Linked DNA regions of Homo sapiens: region 1 is linked to region 2. Evidence: promoter capture Hi-C in 16 types of primary human blood cells and fetal thymus (Javierre and others, 2016). All regions are on one chromosome and are shown on one strand. Each heading gives the region's core, a stretch centred on a gene start or on the middle of the fragment in contact. The rest is flanking DNA. Distances are from core to core; before and after follow the strand shown.

The links. The method cuts DNA at HindIII sites, captures the fragments that hold promoters and counts their contacts. A CHiCAGO score of 5 or more calls a contact.
Region 1: a contact is called between a fragment that was not itself captured here and the fragment with the promoter of HOXC6 in region 2, in 2 of 17 cell types (M1 macrophages and M2 macrophages). The highest score is 5.7, in M1 macrophages.

Annotation. Positions count from the first base shown.
Region 1 is chr12:53,769,411-53,776,268 of GRCh38, forward strand. All of the region lies in intron 1 of LOC105378250 (a long non-coding RNA gene), which reads left to right. Among named protein-coding and RNA genes, the nearest start is that of CISTR, 21 kb to the left of the region's middle. The HindIII fragment of the contact is 2,692 bases long and covers 80-2,771 here.
Region 2 is chr12:54,023,307-54,029,773 of GRCh38, forward strand. It overlaps HOXC6 (homeobox C6), which reads left to right and starts at 5,134. Exons shown (of 2, transcript NM_004503.4): 1 at 5,134-5,615; 2 at 6,349-6,467. The coding sequence starts at 5,216. It also overlaps a transcript of HOXC4 not described here and a transcript of HOXC5 not described here. The HindIII fragment of the contact is 15,214 bases long and covers 1,685-6,467 here.

The DNA of each region.
Region 1 (6,858 bases), core at 176-2,675, 260 kb before region 2:
CCTGCCATTGGGCTACCATAAAAAAAAAATACCCGCTTCCCTTCCCACCACCCCATTTTCCTTTGGCCAGTGAAAATCAAGCTTTCATTTCCTTCTCTAGCACTTCCTAACCTGCACTGAAGATGGTTTTTTTCCTCTCAAGAATGAGGTAGTGAGTAGACAAGATTTGGAATATGATGAAAGAACAGTGTGATGGAAGAAGTCTCAGAGGGGTTACTTATGTTTGGCATCTAGAGATCTTTTATCCTGTATTTTCCACTAAAAATCAAGCAAAAGCCAATGGGTTAAAGTTGTGGGAGTAGGAATTATAATTAGATGTAAAATTGTGTCTATGAACTATTGGAATAGTTACAGGGATGCTTTGGAATCTCCTTTCTTGGCATCTAAAAAGATTGTCTGGAGAATTTTGGCACCTGATTGGATTAGAATTTTAGCAGGAAATGGTTAAGATGGAACTTTCAGATTTAATGATTTCTCTGCTTCCAGCTCTGGCCTATCAGTGTCTATGTGGGAGGAAAGAGAAGACATTGGCAGGGGATGACCTGGGCATAAGGGTAAGAACTGGTTCAAATCCTCTTTTAATAGCCATGCCCTTAGACTCCTTGTTCTTTGTGGAGACTGGGTGCCACAGTAGGAAGAACATGGGCTTTGACTTCATGAAGAACCATGTTCAAATTCTAACTCTTCTTTTTACTGGCTATATGATCTTGAAAAAGTTATTTAACCTCTCTTCATCTTCAAGATCAAAGAATAATACTTCTGTCATGGAGTAAATAGGGGTTAAATGAAATAGCATATGAACCTTGCTTGCAGCTCAACACATTCTGGTTCCTTTCACCCCTCTTTCCACGTAACTCTAATTCTTGCACATAATTCTATCCCTGGCATGCCATTTGACAGATATTTTGCTCTGTCTCCAGCCTCTGCACATCTTCCCCAATGCTTCTTAGCATTCAAGCCTAGAGCTCTGATTTATTAATTTGTGTTAGTCCCACAAAATGGCAATAACAGTATGTACTTTTTATAACCATACTAACATGAGTCAAGGTTGTGGTTTCATTCCAGGCATTTTTACTTGCTGACAATTTTGGTTGTAAATCAGAGACAAAGGAGTTCTATCTTCCCACCCACCTCTCTGATCTAGAGTTCTTGATTCAGGGCTAGATCATCTGGATAGGATTTCCTTCCAATAAAAAAATGATGGCAAGTTTGTTTATAAGATTATTCAGAGAAGAAAAATCCATAACCTTTACTGTTGGAATATTCTTGTTTTCCTCCCAACCTTTTAATTTGAAAAATATTAACCTACAGAAAAGTTGTAAAATAGTGTAATTAATACCCATTCATTTTTCACCAAGATTGACAAATTGCTAATATTTTGCCACATTTGTGTGCTCTCCCCTTCTCTCTCATATATATATATGTGTGTATATATACACACATATGTAAAGCAGTGCCTATTCAAATTTTGCTAATTGTCCACTGATTTTTTTTTGAGACAGGGTGTCACTCTATTGCCCAGGCTGGAGTGCAAGTGGCATGATCACAGCTCACTGCAGCCTCTACCTCCTGGGCTCTGGTGAACCTCCTGCCTCAGCCTCCCAAGCAACTGGGACTACTGGCACATGCCACCATGCCAGACTAATTTTTTTTTTTTTTTTATAGAGGCAGGGTTTCACCATCTTGCCTAGGCTGGTCTCAGACTCCTGGGCTCAAGTGATCTGCCCTCCTTGGCCTCACAAAGTGCTAGGATTACAGGTGTGAGCCACTGCGCTAGCTGAATAATTTGTTTTATAGTGAAATGTTTCTCCCTAGCCCTGATCCAATTGAAGTTTATGCACTGTATTTTGTTATCATGCCTCTTTATTCTCCTTTAATCTGGAATCATTCCTTAGCCTGTTGTTCATAGCATTCACAGTTTTGAAGAGTACTGGTCAGTTGTTTTGTAGAAAGTCACTGGGTCTAAATTTGACGGATTATTTTCATCATTAGATTCAGATTAGGCGTTTCTGGCACTTTTGGATTAGATAAGAACATTTTTAAAGACAGTGCCACGTAGACAGGGAACATGTCTTTCCCCTGCCTGTTGTGTTCTTAGCACCAAGCACAGCGACTGGCATATAGTAGGTGCTTAATACTTATTGAATGAATGAATGAATGACCTAAAACTTTCACTGCCATGTAGGTCCATTATTTTTCTACCTGAAGAGAGAGAGAAGAGCAGCCTTCTCCTAAATCCTAGTTTCATTTTTATTATAAATCTTTGGGCTGAAAAGGGTAACCCAAGACTTCTTTAATGAGACCACCGAGAAGGGAATATGAGGGAGGGACTATGGCCTGAGGGAAGCCACGGAGTTTCTGTTTACCCAGGGCGAGTGGTGGTGGTGTTCATACTGTGTAGAGACAGGGGGATGAACAAGGTGGTCCTCAGATGGAAGGAAAAATAACACACAGAATCCTAGAGTACCTGGCCTGTTTGCTTACTGAGAAAAATTAGTCATTTAGGTTCCCAGATTTGACCATACTTCCCTCTCCTAGCCCCCATTTGAATCCTAAGAATGCCACAGTGAAAATTGATTTCTGGCCCTCCTCCTCTCCCAGAGGGGACAACTCCATAATTCTCTCTTTCTCCACTTTCCACCCCCCTGCCCTCACCACACACAAGTGTGTATTTTCTAGCATTTATAAACGGTGGTTGGGAGGCCATTCTCTCCAGATTATTTATTGTTGAGAAAATCTATAACTCCTTGGACTTCTCATTTTGATGTAGAAGCTTTCATCCCTGTTGCCTGGGGGAAGTGAGGTTATGAGAGGTACTCTCTGCCTCTCAAAAATGTGTTTTCAGGCTTCCCTTTGGGGCCCTTTCTCTCCCTAGCTCTGATCATCTCAGACATTTCTGACAATCCTTGCTGAGGCATCCAGGGCTTGGGACTGAATTCATCTATTTAATTTTGCAAGGCTGGTGAGTGCCTGATTCACATTGCTCCTGCCCCTTTTCTGAGAATCTACCTGCCTTTGTCTTTGCAGTCCTTAATTTCACCAGTTTCTGGGAAAAAGTATCCTTCATCTCCATATCGGCTCTTGGTTACCAAGAAAAATGGAGGAGATAATCCAAAATAGTGAATGAGACGAAGATTATTATTTTTTTTAAGTGATTGAATCCTGGCTAAAGATAATCCATGAAGTGAACAATCTGGATGAAAGTAATCCATCATGTTACTCTTCCATGGGTGGGTATATGGCATCTGGAGAGGGAGGCTGGTGGGAGAGGGCCTCAGCTTGTTTAGCTCTCACTTTTTTGTCAGAACCATGAGATGTCTGTGGAGAACTCTGCAGAACCCATTTCTATGCTGTATTTTTAAACTCTGGAGGAGGCCTGTTCCATAGTTTGAGAACCAAATACTTAGTTCAAAGAACATGACAATCAGTAGCCAATATGCAAAACTGCCACTTCATCTAGGGTTTCCATGATACCCAGTGTGAAAGTCAAAGTCCTCACAGTGACTCTATGGCCCGCCATGAATGATCCGGCCTCCTGATTTCTCTCTGACCTCATCCCCGACTACTTCTTCCTATCTCACTCTGTGCCAGCCCAAGATGGTCAGGTGCCATTCCACACCCATCAGGATGGCTATTATTAAAAAAACAGAAAATAGCAAGTGTTGGCGAGAATGTGGAGAAATTGGAACCTTTGTGTACTGCTGGTTGGCAAGTAAAATGGTGCAGCCACCGTGGAAAACAGTAAATTGGTGATTCCTAAAAAAGTAAACTTAGAATTACCATATGACCCAGAAATTCCACCTCTGGGAATATATCCAAAAGAAATGAAAGCAGGGACTCAAATTGATATATGTACACCCACGTTCATAGTAACATTATTCAGAATAGCCAAAAGGGAGAGGCAACCCAAGCATCTATTGATAGATAGACAAACAAACAGATAAACAAAATGTGGTATATACATAGAGAGAAATATTAGTCACTCTAAAAAAGGAAGAAAATTCTAATACACGCTACAACACGGATACTCTTGAAGACGTTATGCTAAATAAAATAAGCCAGACACAAGCAGACAAATATTGTATGATTCTATTTATATGAGGTACCCAGAATAGTCAAATTCATACAGACAGAAAGTAAAGTGGTGGTTTCTAAGGAATGGGAGCAGGAGGGAATGGGAATTTAATGTTTAATGGGCACAGAGTTTTAGTTGGGTAAGATGGCAAAGGTTTGGAGGTGGATGGTGACGATGATTGACCCTCATGTGAATGTATTTAATGCTGCATTTATTTATTTATGAGACGCAGTCTCACTCTGTTGCCCAGGCTGGAGTGCAGTGGCACGATCTTGCCTCACTGCAACCTCCGCCTCCTGGGTTCAAGCAATTCTTCTGCCTCAGCCTCCCAAGTAGCCGGGACTACAGGTGCCTGCCACCACGCCCAGCTAATTTTTGTATTTTTAGTAAAGATGGGGTTTTACCATGTTGGCCAGGATGGTCTCAATCTCTTGACCTTGTGATCCACTTGCCTTGGCCTCCCAAAGTGCTGGGATTACAAGCGTGAGTCACTGCGCCCTGCCTTATATACTTTTATTTTTACTTTTTTAGAGACAAGGTCTTGCTCTGTCACCAGGCTGGAGTGCAGTGGCATGATCACAGCTCACTGCAGACTTGACCTCCCAAGGCTCAGGTTATTCTCCCACTTCAGCCTCCTGAGTAGCTGGGATTACAGGCGCTTGCCACCACATCTGGCTAATTTTTCTATTTTTTGTAGAGATGAGGTTTTGCCATGTTTGCTGGTCTCAAACTCCTGGTCTCAGAAGATCTGCCCGCCTTGGCCTCCCAAAGTGCTGGGATTACAGGTGTGAGCCACCATGCCTGGCCTAATGCCACATTTAAAAACAGTTAAAATGGTAAATTTTATGTTATGTACATTTTACCACTATAAACAATGGCCAGAGTCTTTATATTTGCACTTCTCAGAGATCTGCACCATTGCTTTTTCCTGCACCTGCTCCTGGCTGCTGGTGAAGTGTCATCTCAGCAAGGCCTTCTTGGACCACTTGTTTTAAAATCTCAACTCCCATCCTGATCACATCCTAACCTTTACTTGCTTTACTTTACAGCACAAACCACAATCTAACACAATATATATTCTGTTTTTTTTTTTTTTTTTGAGATGGAGTCTTGCTCTGTCACCCAGGCTGGAGTGCAGTGGCATGATCTCGGCTCACCGCAAGCTCTGCCTCCTGGGTTCACGCCATTCTCCTACCTCAGCCTCCCGAGTAGCTGGGATTACAGGTGCCCGCCACCACACCTGGCTAATTTTTTTGTATTTTTAGTAGAGACAGGGTTTCACCGTGTTAGCCAGGATGGTCTCGATCTCCTGACCTCGTGATCCACCCGCCTCAGCCTCCCAAAGTGCTGGGATTACAGGCGTGAGCCACTGCGCCCGGCCTAACACAATATGTATTCTTACTACTTGTTGTTGTTTGCTTCTTCTTGCTGGAATGTAAGTGACTTGAGTGGAGGGATTTTTTTGTGTGTGTGTTTTAATTGCTGTATCCCCAGTGCTGAATAGTTGAGGACCGGTAAATATTTGTTGAATGAATGAATAAGGGACCATGACTAGACATAGACTTCTAGAGAAGGCACACACAGAAAGAGAATATGAGAAGATTCTGTTTTTTGTTTGGCCTTAACTAATTTCTTCTAGACCTTGGATATATAACTCAGACCCTGTGTTCATGATGGCTTTTATACAGTTTACCTTTTCTTACGTGTTTTGAACTGTTTGCATTTAGAGCTGTTGGTGCACTGCGTACGCCATGGTTATTATTATTTAAAGCGGTCACCTTGAACACAAAGCCTCTACTCTTGTATTTCTGATTGCCTCCAACCATAATTGCAGAGGTACTTGAGTCAGGGCTTTGGAAACTCTGGGAAAGCTTAGATATCCAGAAACCTTTACTTTTTTTTCTTTTTCTTTTTTTTTTTGAGACATTGGTTTGACTGGCTCCAGAGTTTTCATTCTCTGGAAATTTTAAGGAAGAGCAAACTTATATAATTTGGGATCAGGAAAGGAGTTGTATTTACAAGCAAAGAGATTGATATAATCTCTAGGAGATGTTGCATTTTAAAGTCCACTTCTTGGAAGCTTTGAGACCTGAAATAATTATGTAGCAGCTCCATTGCTTTCCTCTCGTGAACGTTTATCAAGTTTCTAGGAGAGCACTTTGTGTCCACACTCTATTTGAAGTTGTTCAGCAGGAGCCATGAGGCCAAACTTCCGGATTGGCAAGATTGTTAGCACCCCAGCACGGGAACCAGTGGAACTTACTTCCTTGGAAAAATGTTTTGAAAAGGAAAGGTCCTGAGTGAGGGTAGTGCCCTTCTTAGAGACAGAGGAATGAACACAATGACCTTCAGGATGAAGGAGAGTGGGTGGGGTTGGCTGGGAAAACAAGACAGCCTTCAATGTAGTGGGCGGATTGTTGGATTCGACATGAGTTCTTCTTGGCTACTTGGGATGGAACTTTTGTTTTGGAGTTTGGAAAGAGCTCAGAGAATGAGAGAAACACAGGGAGTAGAAGGGAGGGAAGGAGGGAGCCAGGGGCATGATGGAATTCATACAAGCTGGCTTCATGTTCTCTGGCCTTTCTCTGTATTTCTTTAAGCACCTCCCCTGGGCCAAGCACCTCCTTTGGGAGAGACTGTTTCCTAATTAAACTGAGATCCACAGGCCCAGGGCCCTTATTAGGAAATATCCTTAGGAAATGCTCTTTAAATAGAAGATTGTGCGTATTCTAGTCTCCTGTTCCCACCTCTGTCTGGCCCTTTCTCTCTTTCAAAAAAAAAAA
Region 2 (6,467 bases), core at 3,884-6,383:
TGAATTGAGAAGCCAAACAAATGCCAATGTGAGAGTTTGTATCTGCTGATGGTAGCAGCAATAAGTGAAGTGCTGGTAAGGAAAGGTCAGGCAGAAATCTGGAAAGAGAGAGGGAGGAGAGGAAATGTGACATGAGTTAGCAGAGCCCTTCCATATACCTTTCTTCTCCGTTTAATTGTAATAAAGCAAAAGCAGCTCGGGTAGCCTCTCAACCTCTTAGCTCAAAAGAGGAATCACCAGCGCAGGCCTTGGAGGTGTTTGGGGGCAGTTCTCAGCAGCTTAACATGCCCAATCTGCCCTCTTCCTCCTTTCCCCCTCCCTGCTGATCCCCAGCTCCCTTCAACTGGTCAGCCCGGGCCCTGTCCCCAAAATATTAGCACCCCCAAATGATATCCATTTCTGTGTTAGGTGTGTCAAATTTCACTTCTCTCCATGCCTAAACTTTGAAAGGAGGAGTGTACCTTTTTGGAATGCGGTGTGTGTAGCGGGGGCAGGTATGTGCTCAGACAGCTTCCCCCATCATATCTATGGGAAACTGGAAGCCCCTTAGGTGAGCCATGCTTTGGTGTTCCCAAACAGCATTCCCTGCATTCAGGTTCTCTGGCAGACCAGGAGGCTCTTTGCGATCTGATCCTTTGACTAGGAGTTCCATGGAGATCAAAGGAGCTTATTTATACACAAAACACCAGGCATTTGGAGTAGAATTTATTTTTTAATTTCTAAATAAAAAAGTCTAATCATAGACCAATCGGGCCAACTGAGCAGTCGCTCCAGAACAGCAAAGCCTTAACCAAATAGTGTGATTATGAGGGGAGCTGAGCAATTACTGAAACTCGGCTTTCTCCGTAAGAGGGATTTTAGCCCTCGCCCAGTGGCACAAAAGGGGCCAGCGGGGCAACCGTTCTTCTCTTGCTCAGAAAAGTGAGACTTGGGGGTGGTGGGGGCAGGGTCGGGCAGCTGCGGTCGCGTCCAGGCAGCTGAGCACCCAGGCCAGGCGCTGAGGCTGAGCACTGAGTCCTGAGGCTCCAGTGCTTGGGTCCCCGAGCAGCCTCAGGAGGCACCGAGCTGTAGTTGCAGCGCGGCAGTCAGGAATGGAGTATGTGTATCTGTGTGCGAGGGTTGGTGAGTTACAAACATCCGCGCAGAGTTAGGGGATCTGGGGAGAGAGAGGAGACAGGGAGAACACAACTAAGGAGGACCTCTGGAAAATATTGTCCCCAAATAAAAATTCCAGATCTCATCCCTCTCACTTCAAATATCCCTCCCCAGGAAATTAATATATTTCCCAGAGCTGAGTGGAAAGCAAAGGCCAGCAAGGTGAGGCCTGCCCACGAACTTCTTCAGGCTGGGTCCAGTCCCACCCACCCTTTCCCCAGTTCAGAGCTCACATGCCCCCAGCCTTTCCCTGGCCTAAAGGGGAGTAAGGCTGGAGTGGTAGCATTTAACTTGCCTAGGGAAATCCCCAAGTGCCCAGGCTGCAATGCCACCCTTATCCTTGGGGACTCCAGGCCAGTGACTGCACCCCACTCAGGTCCAAGGCGCAGGCAGTAAATTTCTCTCCTATAATTAGCGCTATCAAAAGCATGTGTTTTGCATTGGAGAGGACTGGAGAAGCAAGTGGCAATTTTTCCCTTGTATTCTTTTTCTGTGTTTTTTGAATTCTGTTTTTGAATCCACTAATTAAAGCTTCTCTGAAAGTGAAAATCTGCTCTTGACACCAAGCCCCTTCCGAATGCCTGATTTGGGAGGCTAAGGGGCCAGAGCAGTAGCAAGGAGACCTGCAAGCCTGATGGGGTTGGGGGGTAGTGTTCTCTGATTTCTTTAGGCTCGTTTTATAGAAACAAAGAACAAGTTCTCTCCCCTCCTTCCCAAGACTTGTGCATATTTACAGAGCACAACTGCAGTTTTAATAAAACATCTGTTCTTGCTTCTGCTGATGAGTTTCCATAATTGTTTTCAGACAAATTTAACAGGAAAATATAAATATATTTAGAAAAATCTAAGTCCCAGCTTTCCCCCTATAGACAGCCATTCTTTTGCCAAAAAAATAAAATTAACATGAAATGGGAAAAAGAAAATATAATCCAATGTAGGGAAGATCGGGCTCATCTGACCTGCTCTCCCCCCTTGGAGCGAATCCTTTCAGCAAATTTCAGCTGCATAATTAAAGATCTAAGAGAAAGAAGAGGGCTTCTTCTTTCCTCAGGAATGAAAGGTAATTGGGGGGGGGGGAGGTGTTGAAAATTAATTTTGCCAAAGGTCTTTAAGCAGTGGAGGAATTTATTTGTATTTCTGTTTCCCCTTCTCTCCCCCTTCCAGCATTTCTGCCTTTTTCACCCAGCAGCTGGTTTCTGTTCATTATAAATCGGCGAGACCTTTCAGTCTCTGCCCTCTGTTTAGGGACGTCATAAAACACTTAACTTTCTGGGGCTGAGGCTCACATTCTGCCTCTCAGGTCGCCAACCTCCCTGAGCCCACCGACTTTAGGCCCCAATAGAGAATCTCCCCAACTTTGGGGCCCCTTTCCTCTCCAGACATGGTTGAGGAGGGGCTCAAGGAAACCTAGGCATCCTTGCTGGGGGCTGTAGTCCATGCTGCCCCAGAAGCCCCTTCTTTCTTCCAAGGTCCTTCCCTCCCCCACCCAGACATAAAAGAGATTTTTAAATACATAGAAAATCAACACTCATTGAAAGTGAAACCTCATTAAGACATCCTATCTTCCATCATTCAATTTGTTGTACATTGCAACAATTTAATATCTTGAAGGAAATATCACTGACATGATTTATCCCTCTAGCAATCTCTCTCTGAAATTGGAGGGGGGGACAGAGTTACTCTCTCTTCCGGCCTCTTCTACTTGTTACACCACTACCCTTAGGGCAGAAAGGAGGCTGGGAACTCTGAGAGAGGCTACTTGTGTCCAGGGGTGCACTGACTTGTTCCCTAGCTCAGTCCCCAGAGTACTCCTGCCTTGTTGTCTCTCCCCCACCTCTTGCCCTCCAGGGGGCCTGAAGCCTCAGCCAGCTGTTGGAAACCTCTGCTCAGGCATGCCATGAATTCGAGGACAGCTGGATTCTAGGGCAAAAAGCAACTCACATTGGTGTCTATGTTTGTGTACCTGCCAAGTCACCCCAAAAATGAGATAACTCATCTAAAATTTTTTTTCTTAATTTAAAAATCCTCCTCTACCCTTTCCCCTTCATTTCCTTGGGGAGAAGAAAGTGTGATCTAGAAGGAGGAACCTTTATAATTATAGGAGTCTTTCCCCTTCCCTTCCAAATACCGACAAATTTCTGTCCTTTCTGGAGGATTGGGGCTGTATTTTCTAAAACCAACACAAATTGTCTGGCAGGAAGACTCTTCAACCCCCTAACGAGGTTCATGTATTAACTAACATGTTGTCTCCACCAGCTCCTGCACACTGTCTGCTTTTGGGTTCGAAACTTTATTTTTCCCCCCTAGCGACACTCCAGGGAAACCTTAACGTTACAGAAGATGAATAAACGAGTTTTTTCTCAGCATAGTCCCGTTTATGGCTTTATTGCTACCCATTGATTACTCCGCTTTGTTACACAGAAGGAAAAGATCATAAAATCCGGCGACATCCGGGTTCTTGTTATAGCCAGCTTTCCCCCCCCCCAACCCACCCAAAAATGGTGGGGGGGGGGGGATATGAGCTTTCTCTGCTCCCCGCACACTCCCCACCACCCTTCTTTGTCAACTCAAGGCATTTTCAGCCTATATCACGATATCAAATTAAGTTTGGACTAATCAGGAGAAAACCCCCATCTGCACACTTTCCGCTGTTTCAGTTCGCCTACTGCGGCTCCCTCACAAGCCTCGGATTCAGCTGCCTTTTCGTAACCGTCTCTTCCCTTTTTTTAGCCCCAAGATGGGGGAATAAAATGGGCGTTGAGGTTGCTGAGAGGCCCATCCCCACCACGGGTGACTGGCACTTGGGTGAGAGCTCCTTAGAACCCCTTTCTGAAGTCTCCAAGCCTCATAGCTCAGGTCCAGGGGCGCCTCCACTGGCGGTGCCCTGAGTCTGGAGGGGGCAGGGGGGCTTCTGACCAAGGCAGGGGCTTGAGCCTGCAGGAAGCTAACTGTCCATCAGAGCCCCACCAGCCTTCTCTTTCTGGCTGGATCCTATGTGAATTACCCCACAGGCCCTCACTGGCTCCAAATAATAAATTCTCACCAACATAAACAGGAGTTGATGTCTCTAGAAAGATTCTCAGAGTTTTCGTTCTTCCTCTCTCTCTCTTTCTCTCTGTCTTTCCCCCTCCGGTGCCACCTCCCTACATTTTACTTCTTTTTCTCCTTTTTCTATTGCATTTTTTATACATTTTCCCTTTTAGGCAAAAATGCTGGAAGAGTTTTCCCAACAGAGGGGTCCTGAGAAGGAGGCAGAAGGGAGCCAGGAGGCAAAGGAGAGCAGATGCGTGGCCCATTTGCCCACTCCAGCTCTGCCACTGTACCCTGAAGTCTTGCCCCTTTAGACCTAGTTGTTCCCCACATCCCTACTACATTCAAGACTCTCAGCCACACTCTACTTACTCAGGGGAACAGGTTTTATGAAATTTCTTTCTACTTTTGATTTTTTTTTAATTATTGGTGAAAAAAATACTAGTTTAGTGATGGGACTCACTCCATGGAGTGTCAAAACAGGATTTCCTGCAGGATTTCTAGGGACCCCCCTCCTGTGCTGGGAGGGAGTTCTTCCCTTGGAGAAATCAGGATGTAATTTTAGAAGGGGGCAGATATAAAACATGAAACCAGATTGAAAATACAGGGGTTTCTCTAGCCCTGGCTCTGGCCACAGCACAGCAAAGTTAGCTGGGGCTGAGAGATTTCCTGGTAGTACAGCTCTCCTTCCCTGAGTCCCAAGGCCCTGCTCAGGGACATGCACCCCTCCTTCACCACCAAACCAGTTCCCTTACATATATATATATATATATATATTTTTTAAAAGAAATCCAAGTCTTACTTTCAAAGCACACACTTAGTCTCAACTAGGGAATCAACAGAAGCAGAAGCGATTTTTTTCCCCCTTCCTGACATCTGGCTTGCGATTGGCTGGGAGGGGGTCAGCTGACTTTGTCATTTTGTCTGTCCTGGATTGGAGCCGTCCCTATAACCATCTAGTTCCGAGTACAAACTGGAGACAGAAATAAATATTAAAGAAATCATAGACCGACCAGGTAAAGGCAAAGGGATGAATTCCTACTTCACTAACCCTTCCTTATCCTGCCACCTCGCCGGGGGCCAGGACGTCCTCCCCAACGTCGCCCTCAATTCCACCGCCTATGATCCAGTGAGGCATTTCTCGACCTATGGAGCGGCCGTTGCCCAGAACCGGATCTACTCGACTCCCTTTTATTCGCCACAGGAGAATGTCGTGTTCAGTTCCAGCCGGGGGCCGTATGACTATGGATCTAATTCCTTTTACCAGGAGAAAGACATGCTCTCAAACTGCAGACAAAACACCTTAGGACATAACACACAGACCTCAATCGCTCAGGATTTTAGTTCTGAGCAGGGCAGGACTGCGCCCCAGGACCAGAAAGCCAGTATCCAGATTTACCCCTGGATGCAGCGAATGAATTCGCACAGTGGTGAGTTTTACAGCTCCGAGATATAAATTAAATAAACTGAACTGGCTTTATGACCGGCTTCCCTAGAAGAACGGGCGGAGAGAGTTTTTTATGGCCCCATAAAAACAATCACGCTCGTCTCCTCACCGAGACAGGGCCCCCTCTTCTGCCCCCTCAGCTCGCCTCTCGCTCGCTTGCAGGGGCCTGGCCCCCTTGGCCCCTGACGGATTGGAGGGCCCCAAGGCGGGCTGAGGGGGCAGGAACAGGGCAGGGGATGAGGGGAGGGAGCAGAAGATAGGGGAGCCCCCCAAAGTGGAGTCAGTCTGAGGAGAAGGGAGGGGGAGAGGAGAGGCAGATAAGTGGGGAGAAGTTTCCAAGGAACTAGGATGCTTGGGGAGATGGGGGAGCCCAGTCCTTGAGAAAGGGGGCCCTCATCCCCATTATCTGGGATTTTTCAAAAATCTGCTTTTAGACTTGCAGCTTTCTGTTTGCCTTTTGCCCCGCCCCCCCGCCCCCCCCCCCACCACACACCTTTCTTTGGGACACACAGGTCCCACCTTATAGGAGGTCTGAAGTTGGGGTCCTCGCTGTACCCCCAGTGGGGGTGGGGCAAGGCAAAAGGGAGAAGGCTAGAGCCCTAAGGAGGCTGTGAGCTGCTGGCCAGGTTGGGAGGGTCAGGACTTTGCTAGGCGAAACAGTCTGCAGAGGACGCTTTGCTGATTGCTTTTAGTGTGTTTTGTGCCCGGATCTTTAGGGGTCGGCTACGGAGCGGACCGGAGGCGCGGCCGCCAGATCTACTCGCGGTACCAGACCCTGGAACTGGAGAAGGAATTTCACTTCAATCGCTACCTAACGCGGCGCCGGCGCATCGAG